4 separate regions of the Homo sapiens genome follow, and all the other regions are linked to region 3. The links are contacts of gene promoters, found by promoter capture Hi-C in blood cells and fetal thymus (Javierre and others, 2016). All regions are on one chromosome and are shown on one strand. Each heading gives the region's core, a stretch centred on a gene start or on the middle of the fragment in contact. The rest is flanking DNA. Distances are from core to core; before and after follow the strand shown. Region 1 overlaps ANO9 (anoctamin 9). Region 2 has its middle 6.3 kb from the start of PKP3. Region 3 holds the start of SIRT3 (sirtuin 3). Region 4 overlaps PTDSS2 (phosphatidylserine synthase 2).

Region 1 (3,482 bases), core at 651-3,150, 200 kb after region 3:
CCCAAAACCATCCCACCACACCCACAGCTGTGGGAAAATTGTCTTCTGCGAAACTGGTCCCTGGTGCTGAAAAGGTTGGGGAGCACTGCACTAAGGCATCCGACGCCCCGGTCACAGGGAGATGGGCTCAGGTAGACACCATCTGAGCACCCAGTGCCACACTGCAGCCTCCCTGCGGGGGGAAGTTCTTGCCCTAGTTGGCCCACGGGGCTCACCTGGCCCTTCTGTCCTATCCTAGACCAGTAGTTCTTCCTGCCTCAATCAACCCTTCCTCTGACTCCCTCCTTGGCCTTCCCGACAGCCCACGGACAGATACCTGCACTCAGGCGTGGCCTGCCACACTGAAACTTCTCCCCCGTCCTGGGTTAGAGGAGAAACCTTCATCCTCCGACAGATATGCAGGAAGGGGCGTGGCACCTGCCCAGGCAGGAGAGGCACCTCTGTCTCAGCGCAGAGGGCAGCCTCCCTGGGGGGGACTGGTGGTCTGGGGGACGTGGGCATCACGGCTCCAGCTCTGCAGCTTGCCTCCGTAGGGGCCCGGGAAGTGTTGTGTTGGAGGGATTCATGGGAGAATGGCCCCTCACATGCCTGGCTTCAGACCCAGGATGAGGGTCCCTCCTCTGCCCAGAACCCCAGCTCCTCTGGCAGAGGCTGAAATTAGAGACCCCCTCACATCAGCCTGGGCCGAAAGTTGAAAGCCGGCAGGATAAGCCCAGACCCCTGAGAAGGAAGGGACGAGGCAGGGACCCCAGACCAGGCAGGACTTTCGGAGAAGCCTGGGAGAGGGGACTGTCCCTGGGGAACATTCTCAAAGGTGGGGGTGGGAAGCCATCGTTCACCCCAGAAATGAGGCACAGAAACCCCCTCCCCACCAAAGACACCGTGCAGCACTGGGGTGATGACCCCACGCCTCTGCAAACAGCAGGATCAGCCTCCCCTGGGGAATGGGGTGCAAAGCCCCCATCACTGACGTGGGCTGACAGGGAGCCCTCCCCCCAGGGCAGAGCTACACGCACACCTGGGGCGTGCCAGCCCCTGGCTGCCCTTAGCTGCTCCCTCGGACAAGGCAGAAGCACTAGGGCTGCCAGGTGTAGCCCCCGCCGACACACACAGCCAGACAGGTGGAGTCCCCCCAACACACACAGCCAGACAGGTGTAGCCCCCCCCCGACTCACACAGCCAGATAGGTGTAGCCCCCCTGACACACACAGCCAGACAGGTGTAGCCACCCCCTGACACACACAGCCAGGCAGGTGTAGCCCCCCCAACACACACAGCCAGACAGGCCTCAGGCTCCGAGACTCTGCTGCAGAACACTGGGCCCACCAGCCTCCAGGACCGGGCCGTCCATCTGTCCATCCGTCTCCAGGGCCAGTGTTTACGGAGCCACACCCACCGGCCCATCCCCCGGGCCACAGCCACCAGCCTACAGGACCAGGCCATCCATCTGTCCATCCGTCTCCAGGGCCAGTGTTTACGGACCACGGGAGCCTGGCTTCTCCACACCACCCTCGGGGTCTTCACAGGTGAGGGCTGGACCACCTGAAGTCACCTCCACTTCCAGCCATGCAGACTGTTCGGTTTATCCACAGTGAGATGTCTGGGACCCCCATGTCCCCAGTCCATGGGCCCCACCTCCGGGAAACTATGTATGGGCCCACAGGCTTCCAGCTCCCAGGGTAGGGACAGGGGCTGTCCCTACACACTCAGTCTGAGGGCCTCTGAAGCTTCAGCCAGCCTTGCCATCTGCAAACCCAGAGAGGGAGGCCGGCTCTGGGTGGACAGCCGGCCAGGCCCTAGCTCTGACGCCACCGAAACACCCCAGGCCTCAGTTTCCTCGTCTGTACAACAGGGTGTCCTCACCCCAGCCCCCAGGTCACCTCAGCGACGTGCAGACACAGGAAGAAGGTGGACAGAACCACACACTGTTCTCCCCCATCCTTCCTGTCCCACAGCCCTCACAGGTGACACACCCAGTACTCCAGGGCCCCAGGGAGTTTGTGGGGGGCTCTTGGCACCCCCATTGTGGGCATAGGCCAGCGTCCAGTGGGCAAGCCCCTGGTTCCCAGTGAGGAAGCTTCTGGAGACACTGTAGCCTGCAGGAGACCCTCCCTCCCAAGGGCTGGAGTGTGAGGACAGAGCTGGGGGTCCTGCCCATCCATCCTCTTCCCAGTCCAGCCTCCAGGTTGGGGGCAGGCAGAGGAGATGGTTGTGCAGATATGACCCCACCCTACTCCTGAGAGGCCTGGCCAGGGGGTCCCATGACGCACATCCCCCCAGCTGTGCATGAGAAGGAGCAGGCCTGGCCAGGGGGTCCCACGACGCACATCCCCCCAGCTGTGCATGGGAAGGTGTTTGGGCCTCATCTCCTCCTGAGGTCACGTCAAGCCTCTTGGCCGGTGCCCTGAGCCCTCTGGGATCTGGCCCTTGAGAACTTTACAGTTTCGTCATCCACAGAGGGTCCCCTTCTGCCCCACCGCAGTCCCAAGCATGGAGAGGCCCACCTTGTGAGCCACAGCGTCTCGCCTCTGCCCAGCCCACGCATCCTCTGAGCAAACCCTCCCCAGCTGGCTCTGCGCTCCTGAAGCCAGTCTTCTGCCCACCCCCCGGCCCCTCCAGCTGTCCAGTCTGTCATCTGTCAGTTCACCCATCCGTGTGCCCGTCCATCCCCAGACACTGACGGAGCGACCTGCGTGCAGCCCTCCCAGGCAGTGCGTGGCGTTCGTGGACGCAGGGGCGGGGGCCTACTTGGCAGGTGAGGAGGCATGGAGCTTGGCATTGTAGGGCAAGAGGTTGGCAAAAGGTGAGAAAATGGGGGCAGCATTCCCGGGAGAAAGAACATGTGTGGGCACGCCCTGAGAATCAGGGTGCAGTTGGTGTCTGGGACTCAGCAGTCAGCACCTCCCAGGGACTCAGCACTCAGCACCTCCAAGGAGGACTTGGTAGCTACTACTCCTGGTGACTCAGCACTCGGCACCTACGGAAACTGAGTCCAGGGACTCAGTCCTTGGTACTTCAGCTTTGCAGAAGCATAAAGGGCAAGAAGGGAGCTGCCAGAAGGGGAGGCTGGAGGTTGGCAGAGGCCAATCAGGGGAGGCTGCTAGGCTTCTTGGCCAAATGGAGAGCTTGGACTTCAGCAGGGGGCAGTGGGGAGCCATGGAAGGGGTTAGAGCAGAGGAAAGGCACGCCCAGATCCAGCCTGGAGCTGGGACTAGCAAGTCCTCCCCATGTCTGCAACTGTCCTTTTTGATCACCACAGGAGTTTTGACCTGCTCCGTTTCCGACCTGGACCGGTTCACCCCTCCTTAGGCAACTTGGTGGTCCCCTGCTCCTGGGAGGTCACCATACTGATGTGCGGACAGCCAGTCAGCCTAACACACTACAGCCCAGAACTCCCAGGCTCGAGCAACCCTCCTGCCTCAGCCTCCGGAGTAGCTGGGACCGCAGGCTCATGCCACCACGCCCGGGTTCCAGCAGTCCTC
Region 2 (3,389 bases), core at 341-2,840, 150 kb after region 3:
ACCATGGGCGGCAGTGGGAGGCAGACAGGCTCCTGGGAGGGAATGGGCAGGTCCCTGGTGAGGCTCCACCTTCAAGCCAGGGTGGGCCTGAAGGCTGGGGGCCAGGCTGACAGTCCTGAGGACCACAGTGGGGACTTGTGGTGCCTTTTCCGGGCCCACCCATGGCTGCCCATGCACCAGTTGGCATGAATTTCCTCCCCTCTGAGGCCCATAAAAGCCCTGGGTTCAGCCAGAGTGGAGAAGAGGACAGAGAGACGACGGGATGACCAGCTGCAGAAAGGAGCTACCCTCACTAGGGCCTCCTCTTTGCTGAGCATTGCAGGCCTTGGGTCAACCAACTGCAGAGAGGAGTTACCCTCTCTGCTGATAGCTGCAGGCATTGGGTCGACCAACTGCAGAGAGGAGCTGCCCTCTCTGCTGAGAGCTGAACACTCGTTGGGACGACCTTCCTGCAGAGAGGAGCCACTCACTCCCAGCCTCCTCTCTGCTGAGAGCCTCTGAGCCGTTCTGACACTTAATAAAGCTCCTCTTCGTCTTGCTCACCCTCCACTTGTCTGTGTACCTCATTCTTCCTGGACACAGGACAAGAACTCAGGCAAAGGTGCTCCTGGCCACAGAGGTTTCTGGCCAGAAAAGCAACACCCCAAATATCCCACAACATGTTTGGGGGCTCGTCTGGGATCTGCACAAGGGTAAGTAAAAGTGGATCTTCTCTTTCTGTCCTTTCTTCGTGGTCCTTAAACTCAACAGCTAAAATGAAAGAAAAATACCAGGCCTCTGTCAATTAGTTAAAAGTGACGACTAGTCTCCAAGCACCAGACTCAACACATGGAGGCCAGGCTTGCTGGGGAGGACACTGTCAAGCCCCCATCACCCTCAGGTATTGGGAATGTTGGCTTTGTTCCAACCCAGTTTTCCTTCATGGAGGTCTAGCTGTCACGTGGGACCAGAAGGAGGTCCTAGAGCAACTGGGGGTATTTGGCTGAGGTTACCCCTTGGAGTTATCCAAAGGCCCCTGGACTGACTCCAGTCCCCAGCCTCCCATGAGGGTGTTGGCACAAAGACCTCCACTCTTTCCTATCATTCTTTTCTGTCTTTCTTTTGTGGCTGTCATGGTTCCTATCTCTTCTTTATGTACAATGTTAAATGTTAAGGATGTTGTTGCAAACCAGAAATATTACTGGGTAGAATGAGCATTTGACTGAGTCATCAAAACTATAAAATGGAAGGTTAAGAATAGCACAGACGAAGTAAAGTGTGCCTTGGTATCTGTATGTAAATTTGTGGCAAAAATGTTCTTGTTATTTCCTTGGCCGCCAACTTGGTGCCAAGCACCTTGAGACCCAGAAAAGAAGCATGGTCTCAGGAAGGAAGCTTTTCTGTAAACGTGAGACCCAGAAGAGAAGCATGGTCTCAGGAAGGAAGCTTTTCTGTAAGTGTAAGACACAGAAGGGAAGCATGGTCTTGGGAGGAAGCTTTTCTGTAAATGTGAGGGCCAGTGATCCCAGGCCTCGTGTGTGCAGGCTTTCTTTGCCTTGCAGGGTAACTTGGACCTTTGCCTCTACTGTAGGATTGATCCAGCCCTCCTGGTGGCCATCTCAGGAGAGGCTGCAAGAGGCAATCCCAGGGAAATAGAGAAGCAAACCCCAGAGGCACCTCCAGTGGAGGAATCAAACCCTTCACTCCTCCCTACTCAGGTTCTCTCTCAAGCTTTCCCCAGCCTAGAAATCCTCATTTTAGGCCATTCTGAGTCAAATTAAGGGGGATCTTGGCAAGTTTTCAGATGGCCCTGACAGATACATGGAGGCTTTCCAGAACTTAACCCAAGTATTTGAGCTCTCCTGGAAGGATATCATGTTACTTCTGAATCAAACCCTGACTGCTGAAAAGCAGGCCACCCCGCAAGCGGCAGAGAATTTGGGGGATGAGCTGTATATCTTATATAGGGCCAGGGAAGAAGAGAAGCTTTATCCAATTGGATGAATAGCAGTACCATTGGAGGACCCTAAATGGGACCCCAGTGATAAAATGGGAGAATGGAGGATGAAACACTTTCAGATGTGATACTGGAGGGCTTGTGAGGGAATGGGACTGGGCTTCTCATTGCACTTGGCTGGAGGGCTTATGAGAGAAAGGGGCTGGGCCTCTTGATTGCACCAGGCTGTCCATGGTAGAGCAGGGATTGGCCCCACTGCCTTCCTGGGGGATGGCAGGGGCCTTGGTGAAGTGTGCCTCTCTGTCTCCTGACTCAGTCAATGAACGGCTGGTCCTAGGGGATGAGGAGATGAGTTCATTGCACAGGCGGCCCCTGATGTCAGAAGGAGGATGCGGGAATGGGCTGTGGGACCAGATGGTACTTTGGGGGCATCCTGGGAGGGGCCACCTCAGTTTTTTCCAGTGGGAACCGGGAGGAAGTCCAGAAAAGAGAGAGGAGATATAGGAAGAAGGCAAAGGCTCTTAACAGCTGCCCTGTGGGCTCATGGACCCCAGGATCCCTAGATACACCTGTGACTGCTGCAAATGTGTTGGGCTAGGGCCCCACAGGAGGGTTTCCAGACAGTGCAGGGAGGAGGGTCCTTCATGAGGGTTTCCACACAGTGCAGGGAGGAGGGTCCTTCAGGAGGGTTTCCACACAGTGCAGGGAGGAGGGTCCTTCAGGAGGGTTTCCACACAGTGCAGGGAGGAGGGTCCTTCAGGAGGCTTTCCAGACAGTCCTGGGAGGAGGGTCCTTCAGGAGGGGCTTTCCAGACAGTGCAGGGAGGAGGGTCCTTCAGGAGGGGCTTTCCAGACAGTGCAGGGAGGCCACCTTGACCCTGTCCAGTTTGCCTTGGGGACTGTAGGGTCCAGCCCTACGGGGCTTAGTGGGTGTTCTCCCCATGTGCGGAGACCAGAGATTGTAATAAATAAAGGCACAAGACAAAGAGATAAAGAGAAAGCAGCTGGGCCTGGGGGACCACTACCATCAAGACGCGGAGACCAGTAGTGCCCTGAACGGCTGGGCGCGCTGATATTTATTGCATACAAGACAAGGGGGCAGGATAAGGAGGGTGAATCTTCTAAGTGATAAGGTGAAGCAAGTCACCTTACGGTGACCCTTCCCTCTTAGGTAGCCGAAGTAGAGAGGAAAGGCAGCATACATCAGTGTTGTCTTCTATGCAGTTATAAGAACGATCAAAGACTTTAAGACTTTCACTATTTCTTCTACCGCTATCTACTACGAACTTCAAAGAGGAACCAGGAGTACGGGAGGAGCATGAAAGTGGACAAGGAGTGTGATCATTCAAGCACCACAGGGAGGGGGTTAGGCCTCCGGATGACTGCGGGCCAGGCCTGGAGAATATCCAGCCTCCCACAAGAAGCTGGTGGAGCAGAGTGTTCCCCGACCTCTC
Region 3 (3,371 bases), core at 373-2,872:
GATTTGTTTTAACAGTTTTGCAGAGTATCACAGATATTAGAATGCGCTCCACGTGTTTGTAGGTCCTGGTCCCTGCTCCATCCATAGCACCTAGAACAGAGTCTGGCACAGAATAAGAGCTCAGTCAGGGCTTCTTGGATGAACGACTGACTCTTCGGGATCTTTGTTTTTTTTTGAGACGGAGTTTTTGCTCTTTCGCCCGGGCTGGAGTGCAATGGTGCCATCTCGGCTCACTGCAACCTCTGCCTTCCGGGTTCAAGTGATTCTCCTGCCTCCGCCTCCTGAGTAGCTAGGATTACAGGCGCCCGCCACCACGCCCGGCTAATTTTTGTAATTTCAGTAGAAATGGGGTTTCACCATGTTGGCCCAGCTGGTCTCGAACTCCTGACCTCGTTATCCACCCGTCTCATCCTCCCAAAGTGCTGGGATTACAGGCGTGAGCTACCGCGCCCGGCCAACTCTTCAGGATCTATTAAACTTTTTTCTTTTTTTTTTCCCACAGGTAGATAAGAGTCTTGCTCTGTCACCCAGGCTGGAGTGCAGTGGCTCAATCATAGCTCACTGCAGCCTTGAACTCCTGGACTCAAGGGATCCTCTTGCCTTAGTCTCAGGAGTAACTGGGACAACAGGCTTGCGCCACCATGCCCGGCTAATTTTTAAATTTTTGGTAGAGATGGGGGTCTCGTTATGTTGCCCAGGCTGCTCTTGAACTCCTGGCCTCGAGCGATCCCCGTCTCAGCCTCCGAAAGTGCTGGTATTACAAGTGTGAGCTACCACTTCGAGACTCACTTTTCACCAACATTTTCAGCAGTTGTGTCAGACAGCAAGTCAATGTGCCATTATTTACTTAAATATTCATCCATTATAGGGCATCTGATACCTAACAACCATGGACCTTAAGATTTTTTCCTATGTAGCCTCAGTTCTTAGATGCAATTACTATGGAGACGGGTACGATCACATGCCAGTGGGAGTATTAACCGCACAACATTTATGAGGGATCATTAAAGCGTTAAATGCATATACTTTTGGACCTAGCAATCCCAGTACTAGGAATTTATGCAAACAGTGAGGTGCCAACAAGGTTATTCACCACAGCATGATGCACAATAACTAAAGGTTAGAACGTATTTCAATGAGGGAATGGTGAAATAAACGACAAAACCCCCATAAGTGACGTCCACAGATCAGCATAAAGACGGAGGCCCCGGTGTTGGAACGCACGTAAACTCCCAGACATGCCGCAAAGGAAACACGGCAAGGTGAGAAAGAGTGGGCGAGGTGTCGACAACGAACACGCAAGAAGTGCTTGTCCTTGCCCAAAATACCTCGAAAAGAAGAAACTGGGAGCTGCTGCCCTCGGCTGCCTCCGGAATGCCCTGGGCACCTCGGGTCTGGGAGGCCTCTGCAAGGGGCGCGCCGGGTCCAAGGGCTCACCGCGGGCCCCATGGCTGCCTCTCAGCCCCGCACTCACATCGTCCCTGCCGCCAAGCACCAGCCGACAGCCGCAGGCCTGAAACGGCCCCACGCCTCCCCCGGCCTCGACCCGTTCAACTACCCGGCCCCACAGCCGGAGGGCTGCCGCGGCGCGCCAACCCCAGAACGCCATGTTCCGCGCAGTCCAAGGAGTCCTCCGGACTCGCCCCGCCCCCGGCGCCCCGGCCCCGCCTCCGCCTCCCACCCCCGCCCCCGGCGCCCCAGCCCCGCCTCCGCCTACCGCCCCCGCCCCCGGCGCCCCGGTCCCGCCTCCGCGCCCCGCCCCCGCCTCCTTGCCGACGCCTCCGGCGCGCCCAGGTAGACGTAGAGGCGAGTAGAGGAAGTTCCCTAGTCTGGTGTCTCATCTCTCGCCCCGGAGGTCAAACCTGGAGCCAGCATTTCTGTACCCTGCGCTCACACCTTTTTCAACCCGGATGGCGGTGATAGTTAATACTTTCTGAGCGCTTTTACTATGGTCAGGCATTATATTTACACCTAATCCTCGCAAAACACTACTGGGAAGATCCTCATTTGACAGGAGCAATTCCGGGTCACAAAGGCTGACACCACAAAGCTAGTCCGTAGCGGGTTCGACCACAGGCGCCCACACTCTTTGACGCCTCAATGGCACAGCCAAGTGCGCGGGAAGTGGGCTGCAAACGCCGGAGAGTTTTGTCCGGAGCGCAGAGACGCGCTGTAACCGAGCAACCAGCGGGGCCCGCCCCCGGCCTGCTACGGCGCTCCCAGCCTGCCCCGCGCCGCTCGGCGCCGGAAGTGAGTGAGCATTTCCGGCAGCCATCCCCGCGGTGCTGACATCCCGGTTGTTCTTCTGTGCCGGGGGTCTTCCTGCTGTCATGAAGGACGTACCGGGCTTCCTACAGCAGAGCCAGAACTCCGGGCCCGGGCAGCCCGCTGTGTGGCACCGTCTGGAGGAGCTCTACACGAAGAAGTGAGCGCCGAGCAGACGGGCCCTGGGCCCCGGCGATAGAGGGAGACGGAGGGGGCAGGCGGGCGGAGGAGCGGACCCTTGATGGGCTGAGGGCGCCCAGACCCAAGTTGGGGGGAAACGGGGACGTGTAGCGACCGGCTGTGCCGGCAAGGTTTGCTGAGGAACCTTGAGTGGCAGGGTCGAGGAATAAGAGGGATGACAGACCACGAGGGCCAAGAGCTGTAGCCAGGATGTTTCGGTCTGAGATTCACTGCTTCCTTAACGGGGGACTGAGACTGAGGCTTCTGAACTCCTACCTCGGGTCTTACTAAAACGGTTCAGGAGTAGCCTTTGATTTTAGCTCTTGATTCCATCTAACAAGCAAACACACTTTCAGGGCCACCACCCACTTTGGGAAACATGTTGGTGATTCGTGCTTAGCCTTGTCATAGTGTAACTGTATCTACAGTTATCTTTCTCATGGTCTGGAGTTGATAAACCAGAGGCTAGTACAGCTTTGCTGTTTTCCCTATTCATTCTGCAGCTGGTTGCACGGGGTGCAACCACTTCCGCCGTCCCATTGTCTTTACCTTCCATTGTATTTCTCATGGGCTTTCTGCCCCTAGAAAGATCTTAAAGTTTAGGTTTGTTTAGAAACAGGATGAATTGCAGAGCAATTAAATTCTTGCTAAGCACTAACCTCCTTTTAATATGAGTAGAATAAATTGCTGGCATTGGGCTGGAGCTATTCCATAGAAAATACATCTCCTGTAGTAACCTCCCTGTTAACCCTAGCATTTAATATAATACCTTTCACATAGATGTTCCATACATGTTTTGATGATGTTTAGCATTCAGCAGCCTTCTGCTATTAGCAGTTTTTGAGAGCAAATTAATGTTTGGCAAATAATGGTTTGTGTTGGATAGCACTTGGTAATTTTCAAAGCATTTTATCTGCGTTATTAAA
Region 4 (3,539 bases), core at 306-2,805, 220 kb after region 3:
CACTCTGTCACTTCCAAGATGTGTAGACGTCGTGCTGCGTGTAGGACAAGGACTGGAGCTCACTAATACGGACCTTACTTTCCAGGAGCGTTGGATTTGAGCAGCTCTGAGATGTGTCCTCCTGCAGGGCTGCTGTGCCTGGTGCCCTTTCTCTGGGTCCCTTACCCTCTGCCTCCCTTCCTGTTGGGTCCTCTTCATTCCCATTTCTGCTTCCCCAGGGCCAGGAGGGTGCTGGGCACTCGGTGGCCACCTCAATGACAGTGTGCACATTTACCTGAAGGGGCGAAGGGTTACCTTTATATTTCAGGTAATCTCTGTGTTTTGGGGAAATGGAAAGATGGTGTTGGGTTAGGGTTGATCAATGATCAGCGTTTCCCTGGGCTACACAAGGAGTGAGTGTTGGGTTGGTGGCCACTTTAGAAACCACAGGAAGGTCTCTGTCGTGGAAAGTCGTATTAAAGGAGTCAAGTTTTACGCCTGTAATCCCAGCACTTTGGGAGGCCGAGGCAGGTGGATCACGAGGTCAGGAGTTTAAGACCAGCCTGGCCAATATGGTGAAACCCGGTCTCTACTAAAAATACAAAAATTAGCTGGGTGTGGTGGCGGGCGCCTGTAATCCCAGCTGCTTGGGAGGCTGAGGCAGGAGAATCGCTTGAACCTGGGAGGCAGAGATCGCGCCAGTGTCCTCCAGCCTGGGTGACAGAGCAAGACTCCATCTCAAAAAGAAAAAAAGAAGTCAAGTTTCAATTTTAACTTGTGTTAGTGTGTGATCCTGTCTTTGTGTGCTGTGGAACTTGGTGCTGGTGGGACACAGGCTGCTCACCCCATCCCTTGAGCTTTGCGTTTATTCCTGGGATTCTGCATGTGAATGGGAGCCTGTGCTGTATCTGGGAGATGCTGACTGGGTTGCAGGCACGTCCGAGGGTCAGGGTGGGGCCGAGTGCAGCCTCCTCCTCCAGTGGGCCTGTGTGTGGAGTGGTGGCATTCTGGGTGTCCCTGAGGCCTGGTCGTTTCCATCTTCTTCCTGAGCCCACATGGAGATGACGAGGGGTTTCCTGCTGGTCTCTTGCAGAACAGGGTTGAGTGGTGTCCTCACGTTGATCTAGCTTCTGGGTCTCCCATTCTGCATGTGAGCAGGTTGATGGGCTGTTGTCTCTTCCACGGTTAGCCTCCCTTAGGCTGGGGCTCCTTCACCCCTCTTTTCTTAGAGACATTACTGCCCAGAGTGAGAACCCCTCACGTGGGGTGGCCGTGTGGTTCCAAGACAGGGTCCTGTGGAGGCCCTGTTAGCTTCCCCACTGGAGGCCTCCCTCACAGCAGGCTCCTGTCCCGGCATCTGCACTCCAGCCAGGCAGAGTCCTGCTCCCGTGCACACCACACCCTGTCTGTCTGTGCTGTGGGCCCTTGGCGGGGTTCTGGGTGTCTGGAGCCCCTTGACCTTGTTCCTCCTACAAGGTGACCTCGTCAGGAAGCCCCAGGATGAGACTGTCCCTGGCTCCTCCAAAGGTCACTTCAGACATGTGCACCCTTTGGAGAGGTCCCTGCTGTTTCTCAGAACTGCTGGGGATGGAGGCTGAGCCCGAGAGTGCTTGCTCCTCGCGCTCCCTTCTTGCTATGGTCTCCGGAGATGCCTCCCAGGCCACGAGCCCTCCTGGCGTGGTTTTACTGGGACCTGGCTTTGCAACAAAAATAGTTGTTTTAACCTCCCTAACCACTCCCATCCCTCTTTTGTTTTTCTCTATAACGTGTAGGGTTTCTTAGCTCTCCTGTATTGGTCTCACTCCACTGGAAGGAAGGCTCAGGAACGCAGGCTGTGTCTTCTCCCGGGTGTGGCTGGGGCGGGGGCTCAGGGAATGGCTGTGATGGCCCAGTGTCCAGGAGGCTCCGGGCCCCACCCCCCGCCTTGCTGCATGACCTTCACAGTGTCACTTACCGGCCCTGACTTGCCTGCGGGCACCACGCACACGGCATGAAGGTGCCCTGGCCCGGGGCACGGACACAGCCAGAGCCACCGCGCTCCTGGCTGTCATCACGTCGTTGGCTTTGCGATCTAAACCTGCTTGTTGTTTTGGTTTTTCTTTCTTTCTGTTTTCTTTCATTCTTTTTTTTTTTTTTTTTTTTGAGACAGAATCTCACTCTGTCACCCAGGCTGGAGTGCAGGGATGTGATCTCAGCTTACTGCGGTCCCCGACTCCTGGGCCGAAGTAATCTCCCCTCACCCTCCCTCTTCCCAAGTAGCTGGGACCAGACATGCGCCACCACATCCAGTTAATTTTTTTTTTTTTTTGGTAGAAATAGGGTCTCACTATGTTTCCCGAGCTGGTCTCCAACTCCTGGGCTCAAGTGATCCTCCTGCCTCAGCCTCCCAAAGCTCTGGAATTACAGGTGTGAGCCACGGTACCTGCCCCCAAACACTCCTGACTCTTCTTATCCTAACCGGGGTCATCTTACTCTCCTCACCGAAATCTGATGTCACCTGTATGGAGGAAAGGGTGGGCCTCATGGAGGGGCAGGCCAGGGACAAGGGGACTCCTGGGCCCCAGCTGAGCCCAGCCCGTTTCCCCTCAAGGGCTGTCTCCAGGAGGACACGTTCTGTAAGTGTAGTGTTCAGCAGAGGGTGAGTTTCTGGGTCGCCGAATCCAGGCACCCTTAGGAATGGGGGCCTAAGAGGGCCTTCTGACGTGGGTTCTCTGCTGTGATTGTGGGCAGGTCTCTCAGTACTGAAGGGCCCCACGGTGTGGAGCTCAGCAGGAAGGCTGAGGTTCCCTGCGGTTTCCTCATGGCTTAGGACTCAAATGCAAATGTATCTAAAGAAAAAGGTGGTTGATAGTCACAATGAAACTTTTATTTACCTCTGGTTGTCTTAAATGCCTAGTATTGTAAAATATGGCAGAAGAATTCACTTTCATGCCTGTAATCCCAACACTTTGGGAGGCCAAGGTGGGCAGATCCCTTGAGTTCATGAGTTTGAGACCAGCCTGGAAAACATGGCAAGACCCCGTCTCTACAAAAAATACAAAAAAATCCAACCTGACCCACATGGCAAGACCCCATCTGCACAAAAAATACAGAAAGTTCCAGCCTGGAGCCTCCACCTGCAGTCCTGCAGCTCCACCCTGGCTCTTCATGAAATCGGCTAAGTCCAGGTGTGGGTGCGTTCAGTGCAGCACCCACGTGCAGGTGACACGCCCATGCACCGCCACAACCACGCTCACACCAGAACATTCCATCATCCGGAAGGCCCGTGTCTCCGCTCCAGTCTGCTTTTCGTGGATGCAAACTCATTTCCTTGAGTCGTGTGTGGGTGACAGCAGATGGGAGGTTTCTTTTGTGCCTGGCGTCTGTAGCGTGTTTTTCTTTTTCTTTTTTTATCTTTTGAGACGGGATCTCACGATGTTCATGATGTTGCCCCGGCTGGTCTTGAGCTCCTGGCCCAAAACAGTCCTCCTGCCTGGGCCTCCCAAGGGGCGTGTCTTTGAGATCTATCCACGTTGAGGTCGTTGCCAGCAGCACATTCCTCTGAGTGCTGAGCCATGCTC

What was found. The method cuts DNA at HindIII sites, captures the fragments that hold promoters and counts their contacts. A CHiCAGO score of 5 or more calls a contact.
Region 1: a contact is called between a fragment that was not itself captured here and the fragment with the promoter of SIRT3 in region 3, in 1 of 17 cell types (naive CD8 T cells). The highest score is 5.0, in naive CD8 T cells.
Region 2: a fragment that was not itself captured here is called in contact with the fragment with the promoter of SIRT3 in region 3 in 3 of 17 cell types (naive CD8 T cells, naive B cells and total CD8 T cells); the score reaches 5.6 in naive CD8 T cells.
Region 4: a contact is called between a fragment that was not itself captured here and the fragment with the promoter of SIRT3 in region 3, in 8 of 17 cell types (naive CD8 T cells, naive CD4 T cells, total CD4 T cells and 5 more). The highest score is 8.1, in naive CD8 T cells.

Annotation. Positions count from the first base shown.
Region 1 is chr11:437,226-440,707 of GRCh38, forward strand. All of the region lies in intron 1 of ANO9 (anoctamin 9), which reads right to left. LOC105376506 (a long non-coding RNA gene) reads left to right here. Exons shown (of 5, transcript XR_007062542.1): 3 at 1-1,526; 4 at 2,674-2,755; 5 at 3,260-3,448. It also overlaps the pseudogene RN7SL838P. Among named protein-coding and RNA genes, the nearest start is that of ANO9, 3.0 kb to the right of the region's middle. The HindIII fragment of the contact is 350 bases long and covers 1,726-2,075 here.
Region 2 is chr11:386,169-389,557 of GRCh38, forward strand. No RefSeq gene overlaps it. Among named protein-coding and RNA genes, the nearest start is that of PKP3, 6.3 kb to the right of the region's middle. The HindIII fragment of the contact is 235 bases long and covers 1,474-1,708 here.
Region 3 is chr11:234,720-238,090 of GRCh38, forward strand. It overlaps SIRT3 (sirtuin 3), which reads right to left and starts at 1,623. Exons shown (of 7, transcript NM_012239.6): 1 at 1,329-1,623. The coding sequence starts at 1,609. PSMD13 (proteasome 26S subunit, non-ATPase 13) reads left to right here and starts at 2,257. Exons shown (of 13, transcript NM_002817.4): 1 at 2,257-2,425. The coding sequence starts at 2,331. RefSeq lists a silencer at 1,689-1,768 and enhancers at 1,919-2,108, 2,269-2,508. The HindIII fragment of the contact is 9,250 bases long and covers 1-3,371 here.
Region 4 is chr11:454,070-457,608 of GRCh38, forward strand. The region is part of intron 1 of PTDSS2 (phosphatidylserine synthase 2); the gene reads left to right. Among named protein-coding and RNA genes, the nearest start is that of PTDSS2, 5.6 kb to the left of the region's middle. RefSeq lists an enhancer at 858-1,579. The HindIII fragment of the contact is 6,661 bases long and covers 1-3,539 here.